2 separate regions of the Homo sapiens genome follow, and region 2 is linked to region 1. Evidence: promoter capture Hi-C in human tissues and cell types (Jung and others, 2019). All regions are on one chromosome and are shown on one strand. The core of a region is centred on a gene start or on the middle of the fragment in contact, and the rest is flanking DNA. Distances in the headings are between cores, read along the strand shown.

Region 1 (6,934 bases), core at 4,119-6,618:
TTGAAATTGGGGCCTACTGGAGGGGGGAAAGGATACAAAGTTTGAAAAGCTACTGGGTACTATACTCAGTACCTGGGTGATGGGCTCATTTGTACCCCAAATCTCAGCATCATGCAATATACCCAGGTAACAAACCTGTGTCAGAGGCATGTACCCTCTGACTCTAAAATAAAAGTTAAAATAAAGAAACCACATGAGAAGATCAGAGTTAAGATAAATGAGTGGTATTAAAATGATGTTAGTCTGGGCTGTGTGGTTATGTTGTCCAGCCCGCCACCACTATACTGTATGGAAGGTGGGTATCTTCTCCAGCCTGCCACCACTAGACCATTTCTGTATGTAAGGCAGTTCTCCTGTCTAGCCCACTGCTGCTGGACTCTCTTTCCTGTATGTAAGCTCTTAATAAAATCCCATGTCTTGTTAAAAAATGATGTTAATGATAATTTTGACTATGGAACAAATAACATTATGATGGGGAAAAAATAAAATCCAGCTCTACATGTTGAGATGCATGGGAGAAGTGGACGGAAAAGGAAAGAAAAGAGAGGAAGAAAGGAAAAAGAGAAAATATGCTTCAGAGGAAATATTCTACCAACAAAACAGATGCTAACAGACCAGGAACAGATGCTAACAGACCAGAAGCTGAGAATAGATTGGTAAAAAATAGACAATGCAGAACTGGGTTCACAAGGTACATCAGAATCCATGAACTCACTAACTTGTTAATTCAAATCAGGTTTATCAATATGATGTACCTGGCACTAGGAAAAGGCTGGAGGATTCAAAGGGGGAATAAATACTGTCCCCGTCTCTGTCCCCCAGGTGCATATTGATGATATTGGGGATGGGAATGGTGGACACATGTTTGCGATGTGTTTATGAGGCTGTATGCATGTAAGCAATACAGTAGGGATTCAAGGGAGGAGTTGTCACTTTTTCTTGGAAGAGGGGATCCTTTTCTAGACTTTCGAAGGATCCTTTTGAAATGAGCCTTTAAAATTGTGAACTTTTTTTGTTTCACATTTTTAAAATGAGTTTCTGGTACAGTCCAATGGAAGTATTCAAAATAAGAATTAATCACCATACCAGCCCCAATAATTAGTGATCATAATGCTGCCTGAGACACTTAAGAAAAGTTTTTGTGTTTAGTACAACTTGTTCTTTAAGCACAGTCTGGCATAGGACATTGAATTAATAATTGTGTAATGAGTGAACAAATATGGCAAAGTCCTTGTCACCCAAAGGATTATCCTTTGATTGCCTGGATAATGTAATACTCATATTTAGGCCCTCTGTATTACAGAATTGTGCATTGCATATCTAGATAGGGTATAGTTCAACCTGTATCCCAGGACTACTGTAGCTCACTATTGAAAAATAAGCACATTTATATGTTAGGAAAGAAGAGTAGAAGAGTGTCGGAACTGGCATTGGATCAGTCATGTTTTCAGAAAAATATTACCTGTGATTGGGAAATAACAGTGTGCAGGGAATTGTGATACAGCCCTGGCCTTATATTGCTACTCAGGAGGCATCACAGAGGGAGAATGAAAATCATTTACAGAGGTATGAAATTAATCTGAGAAGGCTGCTTCAGTGATGTCTCATCCTCAGAGGAAGATGGATGAAGCAAGTGTCTGGAGACCTTTCCTGTCCATGGAGCCTGTAATGTGCTGGGATTTTGAATTCTGTGGAGCTGTAATTCCTCTAGTTGGCTGTGCATTCAGATTTTTAGTGCTCATTCTAGACCCACTGCTCTGAGCCCAGGGCCAGGGACCCTATATTTATATAAAGTTCTCTAAATAACTTGGTTGATGAGCCAGGCTAATGATACATGAATAGCATGTTAATCGTATTACCTATGTAGATGTCATTCTTTGATTCTAAAATATAAAGTTGTGAAACAGGCTGTTTCTTCATTAAACTCATCCATAAGTCAGTCAATGTTGATAAAGAGAAGAATATCCCACAACTCTAGGTTTAAGTTTCTGGCATTTTACCAACTTGTTATCTAGAAATTGTAGATTTTATATATAATAAACTCTTAAATTACCACAGTAATTCAAGATTTATAATGCGTAGTTTGCATTATGGGGCTCATATTTTCACCTAATGTTGTGGGGCTCTATAGCTCACTCTCTTGTAAGTTCACATTACCTGTCCCATTTATAGTCTGTGGGTGGGAAGTCATATTTTTTTTTTTTTGGTAATTCAGAATGCAGGTCAGAATGTTTGTGAGAACTACTCACTCTGCAAATGGAATGCATTGCAGCATATAAATCCAAAATATTATGATTATTATTGTTGATGTTGTCTCTGCCTATTAATTACCTGAAGATCAGTTCATCCAGTAAAACCCAGCTTTAAAATTTAGATTATGAGACATCTATATAATGTTAAATGGCTAGCTATCCTTTTTTTAAAATTTGCCTTTTAATGTTTACATGATTAAATGTATGAGGTGCAAAATTGTAACATACAGATGAATAGGTCACACATATAAAAAGAGATGCTATCTGGATCATTCTCTAATTCTAAGGGAATGGTTGAGGAGAAATAACAGGAAATCTAAGTATACAAGTATGAAGCAATTTTAATGTACTGAAAGCAAGTTATATAAAATAAAGTGTTTTTGGAGATTAATTTTGGTTACATGCATTTTAAAGATTATGTTGTCAGATAAAGCCAATAAGGAATAATCAAATTATTTGAAAAGTATTACCTTAAACAAAAAATTCTTACTGATTCCATTTTAAAGATTTATAACATAAGTACAAGTTTCCCAACTAAGAAAAAAAGAGAAGTGATTCCTTCCTCCAGAGTACCTTATAATGCCTGAATAAGCAATCCAAATAAATATTTTAAATTTTCAGAAATTACCCTGAAAAATACAAATAATGCTGATATCCAAATATTCAGAAATCACTGCATAGATTGGAATAAACATACTGGTACTTAAAATTGGTTAATAAATCATCACTGGAGTAACTAAAATATTTTAGACATTATAGGAACATACATTGATATTTTCAAAGATGTTAGTATCTCAGAGACACTTTGCATAAATAAGTATTGCTAGTTACTGGACATAATAAAGTAGAATTATTCTAAAAGCTTTCCAAGGATAAAACTGTGTTAGTATACTGGTAGTAAAATGTATAATTAATAAAGATGCTGCAGCTATATTTTCCCACAGTGAAATCCTTGCACAAGAGAAGTATCTGTAATCCTGGTCTACAGAAATTATTTAAGATGTGCTATTACACTAAGAAATAGAAATAAAATTACCTCTGTCAAATTGTACCATAATGACATTAATTTGATATTATAATATCTATCTCTCTTAAGAATTAGACATTGTCTGTAGTTTTGGTATGAGAAGGTTCAGTAAGAAAGATATTAAAATATAATTTGACCAGCAGAACTCCACTATGAGCTGAAAATTTAGATGATTTATAAACATTAATGGAATGGTGGCTGTCTCATTATGCTTATTTAGTAAGGGAAACAATTAAAATATGTACCTAGTACAACGATGACTTTTGGGAGTAAAGAAATTCACATTAGCTGTTCAGATAGCTAGATACATCAGCATATTTCACAATATATTTTATTTCCCTGGTGCTTATGTATATATGGATATTATTGAACTTTATAATTCATTATCTCCATACAAAGAAGTAAACAAAACAAAGATACTTAACTAGTAAGACACGGCTGCTAAATGCATACGCACCTTTTTTTTTTAAACAAGTTTATACAGCCTGTTCTTGTTAAATATTTTAGCGAGAACTAAGTTTTAAAGCTTGATAATTATAGTTATCCATTCTGAAATGACATTTCTCGTGATTTTACTCCTTGTCACTTATATGTATTTAAGCTGGCCTACCTATCTTTGAACAGTATAGGCAAAGAAAAAGGAATATGGTATTAGAATTCACCTTCACTTGATGGAGAACCGGATGTGGTTATCTGGGTAAGAGCCCAGGTTACTTGGATGGAGAGATGGGTTTGCTGGTTTACACTAGGAAGAGTGACGTATTTACCTCGATTCTACTGAAAGCGGATAAAAGCAGTACCATCACTGTGACCTAGGAAAAGGGAAAATGTAAGCCCACTAATATGGAAGCCCATTCAGAAACATTTTCTGTGAACGATAGGAGGACCAGCCTCATCATATTCCTGCTTACTGATCCACATCTGCTGGAATGTGGACAGGCTGGCAAGGATGGAGCCCCCAATCCAAACAGAATACTTCCGCTCTGGGGGAGCTATGATCTTGATTTTCATGGTGCTGGGTGCCAGGGTTATGATTTCTTTCTGCATCCTGTCAGCAATGCCTGGGTACATGGTGCTCCCTCCAGATAACACGGTGTTGGCATAGAGATCCTTGCGAATATCCACATCGCACTTCATGATAGAGTTGAAGGTTGTCTCATGGATCCCACTGGACTCAATGCCCAGAAAGGAAGGCTGGAAAATGGCTTCAGGGCATCGGAAGCGTTCATTCCCAATGGTGATCACCTGCCCATCAGGAAGTTCATAGCTCCGTTCCGGTGAGGAGGATGCGGCTGCCCTGACCATCTCCTGCTCAAAGTCCAGGGCTACGTAGCACAGCTTCTCTTTGACATCTCGCACAATCTCCCGCTCAGCAGTGGTGGTGAAGTTATAGCCTCGCTCTGTCAGGATCTTCATGAGGTAATCAGTCAGGTCTCTCCCTGCCAGATCCAGGCGTAGAATGGCATGAGGCAGGGCATAACCTTCATAGATGGGCACGATGTGAGTGACCCCATCCCCAGAATCCATCACGATGCCTGTGGTCCGTCCTGAGGCATAGAGGGACAGCACAGCCTGGATGGCGACATACATGGCTGGTGTGTTGAAAGCCTCGAACATGATCTGAGTCATCTTTTCCCGGTTGATCTTGGGGTTCAGGGGTGCCTCGGTGAGGAGGATGGGATGCTCATCTGGTGCCACACGGAGCTCATTGTAGAATGTGTGGTACCAGATCTTTTCCATATCGTCCCAGTTGGTGACCACTCCATGCTCGATAGGATACTTCAGGGTCAGGACGCCTCTCTTGCTCTGAGCCTCATCTCCCACGTAGCAGTCCTTCTGGCCCATGCCTACCATAACGCCCTGGTGTCGAGGACGCCCTATCATGGAGGGGAACACAGCCCGGGGGGCATCGTCACCACCAAAGCCTGCCTTGCACATCCCTGACCCATTATCCACTACCAAGGCAGACAGCTCATTGTCAGTCATGGTGCTGGCTGAGATCTTCCAGACGAGTGAACAGGACAAGTGAATAGACAGTGAGTAAGAGAAAGTGAACAGGCCTAAAACACTCCAGAAATGCTTTCAGACACGGGAGGCTGCACCGGGACCACAGGTATTTAAAGGAACACACTGACTCCGCCCATGTCCTACTCCACCAGTTCCCAGCATTTCTGGATGAGGTCATCTCTGAGGTATTAATGATGGTGATGATTACATAAACAATTAGATCTTTCTACATAAAGAGAAAATTGGCTGCCAAGTGGTCAAATCTCAGGTTCCTGTAATTAGGCAACCCACACATGACCGTCAGCCTGCCTGGTGAGGTCTCTAGATAACTATGATGATGCAGTGGGGGATATAAAAGCAAGATGAAAGAAAGCTGGTGCTAGGTATGGCAACACTGCTGGGAGGAAGGCTCCCTCCTTAGCGTCCCTGAGGATTCACTTTTCCTACACTAGCTTACCTTTTCATTCTTAAGATACTGTTCTGATGAGGGGTCTTACCCTGCAATCTTCACTTTTTCAAGATTTTTGTTTCCATTAGATTCCTAATCCCACAGGGTGTCATCATCGTAGAGACTGTTTTAGTAAATGAAAATAATAAATGGCTAAGGATGGCCTGATGGCTGTAATTACAATGCACTTGTGTCAAGCAAAATGTAGAGATATTTAATAGACTTCTAATCCATCAGAGATCAAGCGAAAGGAATAGAATGATTGCTAAAGTTAACCCATATAGATACTTTTTTCTGATATAAATTTCTAACAACCAAATTTCATTAAACATTTACTGTGTCTAGACATTGTTCATAGAACCAGGTTCATTGGGTCCATGTTAATTGTATAATGACTGAATGTCAACTATTTTGCATGATTTATTAAGATGCAGGTTATAAAAATTTATTTATTTGCAACAACTCTTGAGTTCTGCAACAATGGACAAAATGAAGTGATAAGACAAATTTGAAAAATTATATATTTAAACTAATCCTTAAAACATTTTGATCTTCAAGATACATATACTATATTATAACATTAAACCTCTATGTAGTTATTAAAATCTATACAATTAGAATTATACTAGCTTTCCTTCCATTTCAAGATATATTACACCCTGATCACTTCATAGCAACAATTTGTTTGGGTTCCATGTTTCATATAGAAATACAGACTACCTGAAAAGATGTGTATGATGGTAAAATGTAGGACATCAGCAATGTGTTACAGAGAAATAGCATTTAAGAAAGCTCATTACTTCTGCTCCCCTATGTGTTAGGCGAATAGAATATAATTATCTTTGTGAGCTCTTGTAAAGCAAAGAAATTTTCCATGTCTACATCTGAGTTCTCCAAAATAATCTTTATTTGGGTTCATCATTCATTCATTTACCCAATAAAGCTTGCTTTGTAAGAGGTAGCACAGCCCCTATTTACTGGACAAAAAACACCCTCCAGCTCAAGGCCAGGAGAACTAACCTGAGTCTTTGCCCAGTGAGCCTCTTGGAGAGTCATGGTGTAGCATCAAGCTGTGAGCATCCAGCCCTCTTCTTTGTCTATAGCTTGATATAGATTTATTTTATCCAGTGCTGTAATATGCCTTCAAAACCTTTCTGGTGACAATCAGTCATGGCAGAATGTATGTTTCATCACAAGATC
Region 2 (6,638 bases), core at 56-2,555, 130 kb before region 1:
TTTCTCAGAACAAGTAGAGGGCAAATGAGCAGGTATTCACAGTGGCGATTGTGGATTTAAAAATATTTATTCTTTTTTACTCTTTTGTGTTAAATTTTCTACAATACATATACATTACTTTTGTTATAAGAAAATAATAAAGTTGTTTTCATTTTTTTAATAAAGAAAAGAAATTTATTTTTTACAGTTTTGGAGGCTGGAAATTCCAGGGTCAAGGGGCTGCATCTGGAGGGTCTCCTGCTGGTGGGGACCTTCTGAAGAGTCCTGAGATGGTACAGTGCATCACATGGTGAGGGGACTTATGATAGGCAGCCACACTGGCTTTACAGTGGACTCACCCTCTTGATAACCAGTCCACTCCTGTGATAACCCATTCACATATCAACCCACTAATCCATTAATTCATGAATGGATCAATCAACTGGTGAAGACAGAGTCCACATAATCCAATCACCTCCCGAGTGTTCCACCTCTCAACACTGCTGCATTGGGGATCAAGCTTCCAACACATGAACTTTTGGGGGACACATTATTTATTTAAAAAATACTTTTATTTTAGTTTCAGAGGTACATGGGCAGGTTTATTGTATGGGTAAACTCGTGACTCAAGGGTTTGTGATGAAATAATCTGTACAGAAAGTTATTTTTAGTTAAAAAAAATGTGTAGCAACTCTTCCTTTTCTACGATAAAAAACAATGGCATGCATTCCTGATTCTTTTTTTATTTTTTTGAGATGGAATCTCACTTGGCTAGAGTGCAGTGGTGTGATCTTGGTTCACTGCAACCTCCACCTCCTGGGTTCAAGCGGTCCTCCTGCCTCAGCCTCCTGAGTAGCTGGGACTACAGGCAAGCACCACCCCGTCAGACTAATTTTTGTATTTTTAGTAGAGATGGTGTATCACCATATTGGTCAGGCTGGTCTCAAACTCCTGACCTCAGGTGATCTGCCTACCTTGGTATCCCAAAGTGCTGGGATTACAGGTGTGAGCCACCACGCCCAGCCACATTCCTGATTCTTAATGTTACAATTTCCATAACACAGAAATAATTTGGAGATAATGTCATTTAGCTACAATTAGGGAAGGGAAAACTTTTCAAGCTCTCTAAAGGAGGTAAATCTTATTTTTATAATTTTGCCTTGTTTAATTTTCATTGCCATGTGCATAGCTCCAGGGAAAAGTTATCTTTTTTGGACGTTTGAACTTCCTGAATACAGCCTAGTTGGAATAAATAGCTTTCATTGTTAGAGGGACCTCAGGGACTAAGTGTTACTGAGAATTTGAATATGTCCTCCAGTTTGGAAGACAGGCTATAATAAGGACAAGCCTACAGTCGTCTTGGGATCTCATTTGCAACACTTCCTTGGCATGCTTGCAGTTTGGACAGGGTTCACGTGCCAAGGTGTAGGATGAAAGATAACCAGACCCAAAATAAACCAGGCAGTAGGACAAGTTTTGAATTTTAATGCATATTAAAAATGTTGCCCTATCCTGGGGCTGCATTTCAAAGAGAGGTATAAAGATAAATGTACCTTTATATTTTTGGTATTTGAAGGTATTTGAAGGTCTGTTTTACTAGGAGATGTTACAGTGCAATGAAAGTTGACAACAGCTGCGCTGGACACAGCTACTTAGAGACTCAATCACCGTGAGTTTAGTTCTAAATTCATGGAATTCAGGGGTTAAGAGCATGGATTCTGAAACTAAACTGCCCGGATTTGACTCTGTCACTTATCAGCTGAGTGACTTTGGGAAAGCTACTTACCTTATCTGTACCTGTTTCTTCTTCTGTAAGTTAGGAATAGTAATAGACTCTTTCTATCCAGTTAGGAGGATTATTCTTTGGTGAACTCGGTGGATGAAGAATTGCTGGGGACTACAATACGGCAGAGGTTCTTTGGCTAAACTGGCAGTCATTCTCTATCCCTTTTTTTCCACAAGCTTTTCACCACAGAGGCAAGACAAGCTAACATTTACCCATTTGTTTGCCCTTGCAGCTGGTGATGGCTATTTACAGTTAGCCAATGAAACATAAGTGAAACTCTCCCCATGAAAGGGACAGTTGCAAGCTGCACTGCTTGCTCCTCTTCTTGCCTTGAACATATGTTATGTCTGGAACTGTGGCAGGCATTTATCAACCATGAGGTGACAAGCAAACAAGAAGCCAAGATAATCTCAGAGATGCCAATCTTAATATCCATGAACTGCTGAACCAGTGCCAAAACCTAAATATTACAGACTCCTTGCTTCAGTAGGTCAGGCTTTCTGTTACTTACAGTGGAAAGCATTCGTCTTAACTGATATGTATGGTAGATACTCCAGAGTTACCACTCTTTTTGTCCTAGTCCTGTGTTTCTCAAAATATGGTTTTTAGAACACCTGCCTTAAAATCACTTTGGGCTCCAGCCAGTGATTCAGAAATCTCTGAGAGTGGGGTCTTTGAATCTGTATGTGAAAGAAGTTCCCTAGGTGATTCTGATGCACATTCCAATTTGAGAAGTCTTAATCGGGTGTTGGCTCACTGAGTTCGTTTTTGTCGGGCAATCACTGAGCGTTTACTAAGGGCTAAGCACTGCATTAGGCATTGTGGATGCAAAGATGAACAAAACCACTTTGCTCTTGAGGGGCTTACATTCTGGTGGCAATTTCAGTACAAGGAGGTAATTGCTTTAAAAATAAAAAAAAGGTTAGCGAAGCAGTAGGCCATTCTGAGAGATCAAGAAACTACCTGGAAGGGAAGGCTATGTGAATTACACAGTTTCAATCAAATATATGTTTTTATCCCGCTAATTTGACTCCATAGATGTTCCTTTTCTGTATTTGTGAATGTAAACTTTTAAACAGCATTACAGCGATTTTGATAACATTTCGTGACCACATACTTTGTGGAGCTAATTCTGTAAAGCTACCTCAATGCCTTAATCAATTTTATCTTCTGGACAGTTAAAATTATCCATTATTTTCAATTTTCATTATGATTTTACCAGCATTATTTTTCTTTTTTTTTTTTAAAGTGAAAGCAAGTTTATTAAAAAAGTAAGGGAATAAAAGAATGGCTACTCCATATGCAGAGCAGCCCCGTGGGCTGCTGGTTGCACATTTTTATGGTATTATCTTGATTATATGCTAAATAAGGGGTGGATTTTTCATGCCTCCCCTTTTTAGACCATGGAGGGTAACTTTCTGATGTTGCCATGGCATTTGTAAACTGTCCTGGCACAGATGTGAGTGTAGCAATGAGGATGACCAGAGGTCACTGTCATTGCCATCTTGCCTTTGGTGGGTTTTAGCCGGCTTCTTGACTGCAACCTGTTTTATCAGCAAGGTTTTTATGACCTTATCTTGTGCTGACCTCCTATCTCACCTTGTGACTAAGAACACCTTAACCTCCTGGGAATGCAGCTTAGTAGGTCTCAGCCTCATTTTGTCCAGTTCCTATTCAAGATGGAGTTGCTCTGGTTTAAATACTTCTGACGGTTTTATGCAATTTTATCATATGTGTAGGTCTGTGTATCCACCACCACAGTTGAGATATGGAATAGTCCATCCCTACGAGCACCCCTGTGTTCTCCTGTCATGCTCACCTCTCACTGCCTCCCTCCACCTTCCATAGTGCCTGGCAACGACTAATCTGGTTTCCACTTATATAATTTTGTCAGTTGGGGAATGTTATTAAATGGAATCATACAGTAGGTAATCTTTTGGGATTGGCTTTTTAATTTAGCATAATCTCTGGAGATTCATCCAAGTTGTTGCTTGTATCAATCATTCATTTAAAAAAAATACTGAGTAGTATTTTGCACTATACCACACATACTGCAGTTTATTCACTCATTGAAGGACACTTGGGCTGTTTCCAGATTTCAGCTATTACTAATAAGGCTGCTATAAATATTCGTGTGTAGGTGTTGTGTGAATATAAGTTTTTATTTCTCTGGGATAAATGCCCAAGGATACAAATTATGGGTCATATGGTATTTTGCAGGTTTGGTTATATAAGAAACTGCCAAACTGTTTTCAGGGTGGCTGTACCATTCCATATTCCCAGCAATGTAGGAGTGACTCAGTTTCTCTGTATCATCCCCAGCATTTGGTGTTGTCACTAATTTTTATTCTGATAGATGTATATGTAGTGATATCCCATTATGATTTAAATTTGCATTTCCCTAATGACTAATGGCATTAGACTTATTTTCTTTCTTTCTTTCTTTATTTTACTATTATTTTTATTTTATTTTATTTTTTTTAATCATATTTTAAGTTTTAGGGTACATGTGCACAGTGTGCAGGTTAGTTACATATGTATACATGTGCCATGCTGGTGCACTGCACCCACTAACTCGTCATCTAGCATTAGGTATATCTCCCAGTGCTATCCCTCCCCCCTCCCCCCACCCCACAACAGTCCCCAGAGTGTGATATTCCCCTTCCTGTGTCCATGTGATCTCATTGTTCAATTACCACCTATGAGTGAGAATATGCGGTGTTTGGTTTTTTGTTCTTGTGATAGTTTACTGAGAATGATGATTTCCAATTTCATCCATGTCCCTAAAAAGGACATGAACTCATCATTTTTTATGGCTGCATGGTATTCCATGGTGTATATGTGCCACATTTTCTTAATCCAGTCTATCATTGTTGGACATTTGGGTTGGTTCCAAGTCTTTGCTATTGTGAATAATGCCGCAATAAACATATGTGTGCATGTGTCTTTACAGCAGCATGATTTATAGTCCTTTGGGTATATACCCAGTAATGGGATGGCTGGGTCAAATGGTGTTTCCAGTTCTAGATCCCTGAGGAATCACCACACTGACTTCCACAATGGTTGAACTAGTTTACAGTCCCACCAACAGTGTAAAAGTGTTCCTATTTCTCCACATCCTCTCCAGCACCTGTTGTTTCCTGACTTGTTAATGATTGCCATTCTAACTGGTGTGAGATGGTATCTCATTGTGGTTTTGATTTGCATTTCTCTGATGGCCAGTGATGATGAGCATTTTTTCATGTGTCTTTTGGCTGCATAAATGTCTTCTTTTGAGAAGTGTCTGTTCATGTCCCTCGCCCACTTTTTGATGGGGTTGTTTGTTTTTTTCTTGTAAATTTGTTTGAGTTCATTGTAGATTCTGGATATTAGCCCTTTGTCAGATGAATAGGTTGCGAAAATTTTCTCCCATTTTGTAGATTGCCTGTTCACTCTGATGGTAGTTTCTTTTGCTGTGCAGAAGCTCTTTAGTTTAATTAGATCCCATTTGTCAATTTTGGCTTTGGTTGCCATTGCTTTTGGTGTTTTAGACATGAAGTCCTTGCCCATGCCTATGTCCTGAATGGTAATGCCTAGGTTTTCTTCTAGGGTTTTTATGGTTTTAGGTCTAACATTTAAGTCTTTAATCCATCTTGAATTGATTTTTGTATAAGGTGTAAGGAAGGGATCCAGTTTCAGCTTTCTACATATGGCTAGCCAGTTTTCCCAGCACCATTTATTAAATAGGGAATGCTTTCCCCATTGCTTGTTTTTCTCAGGTTTGTCAAAGATCAGATAGTTGTAGATATGCGGCGTTATTTCTGAGGGCTCTGTTCTGTTCCATTGATCTATATCTCTGTTTTGGTACCAGTACCATGCTGTTTTGGTTACTGTGGCCTTGTAGTATAGTTTGAAGTCAGGTAGCGTGATGCCTCCAGCTTTGTTCTTTTGGCTTAGGATTGACTTGGTGATGCGGGCTCTTTTTTGGTTCCATATGAACTTTAAAGTAGTTTTTTCCAATTCTGTGAAGAAAGACATTGGTAGCTTGATGGGGATGGCATGAATCTGTAAATTACCTTGGGCAGTATGGCCATTTTCACAATATTGATTCTTCCTACCCATGAGCATGGAATGTTCTTCCATTTGTTTGTATCCTCTTTTATTTCCTTGAGCAGTGGTTTGTAGTTCTCCTTGAAGAGGTCCTTCACAACCCTTGTAAGTTGGATTCCTAGGTATTTTATTCTCTTTGAAGCAATTGTGAATGGGAGTTCACTCATGATTTGGCTCTCTGTTTGTCTGCTGCTGGTGTGTAAGAATGCTTGTGATTTTTGTACATTGATTTTGTATCCTGAGACTTTGCTGAAGTTGCTTATCAGCTTAAGGAGATTTTGGGCTGAGACAACGGGGTTTTCCAGATATACAATCATGTCGTCTGCAAACAGGGACAATTTGACTTCCTCTTTTCCTAATTGAATACCCTTTATTTCCTTCTCCTGCCTAATTGCCCTGGCCAGAACTTCCAACACTATGTTGAATAGGAGTGGTGAGAGAGGGCATCCCTGTCTTGTGCCAGTTTTCAAAGGGAATGCTTCCAGTTTTTTCCATTCAGTATGATATTGGCTGTGTGTTTGTCATAGATAGCTCTTATTATTTTGAAATACATCCCATCAATACCTAATTTATTGAGAGTTTTTAGCATGAAGGTTGTTGAAATTTGTCAAAGGCCTTTTCTGCATCTATTGAGATAATCATGTGGTTTTTGTCTTTGGCTCTGTTTATATGCTGGATTGCATTTATTGATTTGTGTATATTGAACCAGCCTTGCATCCCAGGGATGAAGCCCACTTGATCATGGTGGATAAGCTTTTTGATGTGCTGCTGGATTCAGTTTGCC

What was found. The method cuts DNA at HindIII sites, captures the fragments that hold promoters and counts their contacts. A contact is called where the count stands out against the background at its distance.
Region 2: a contact is called between a fragment that was not itself captured here and the fragment with the promoter of ACTBL2 in region 1, in 2 of the 25 tissues and cell types used here (dorsolateral prefrontal cortex and mesenchymal stem cells).

Annotation. Positions count from the first base shown.
Region 1 is chr5:57,477,443-57,484,376 of GRCh38, forward strand. It overlaps ACTBL2 (actin beta like 2), which reads right to left and starts at 5,369. Exons shown (of 1, transcript NM_001017992.4): 1 at 2,576-5,369. The coding sequence starts at 5,265. The coding sequence ends at 4,135. The region is part of intron 1 of RMEL3 (enriched in melanoma 3); the gene reads left to right. The HindIII fragment of the contact is 3,416 bases long and covers 3,460-6,875 here.
Region 2 is chr5:57,347,262-57,353,899 of GRCh38, forward strand. No RefSeq gene overlaps it. Among named protein-coding and RNA genes, the nearest start is that of RMEL3, 45 kb to the right of the region's middle. The HindIII fragment of the contact is 5,938 bases long and covers 1-4,274 here.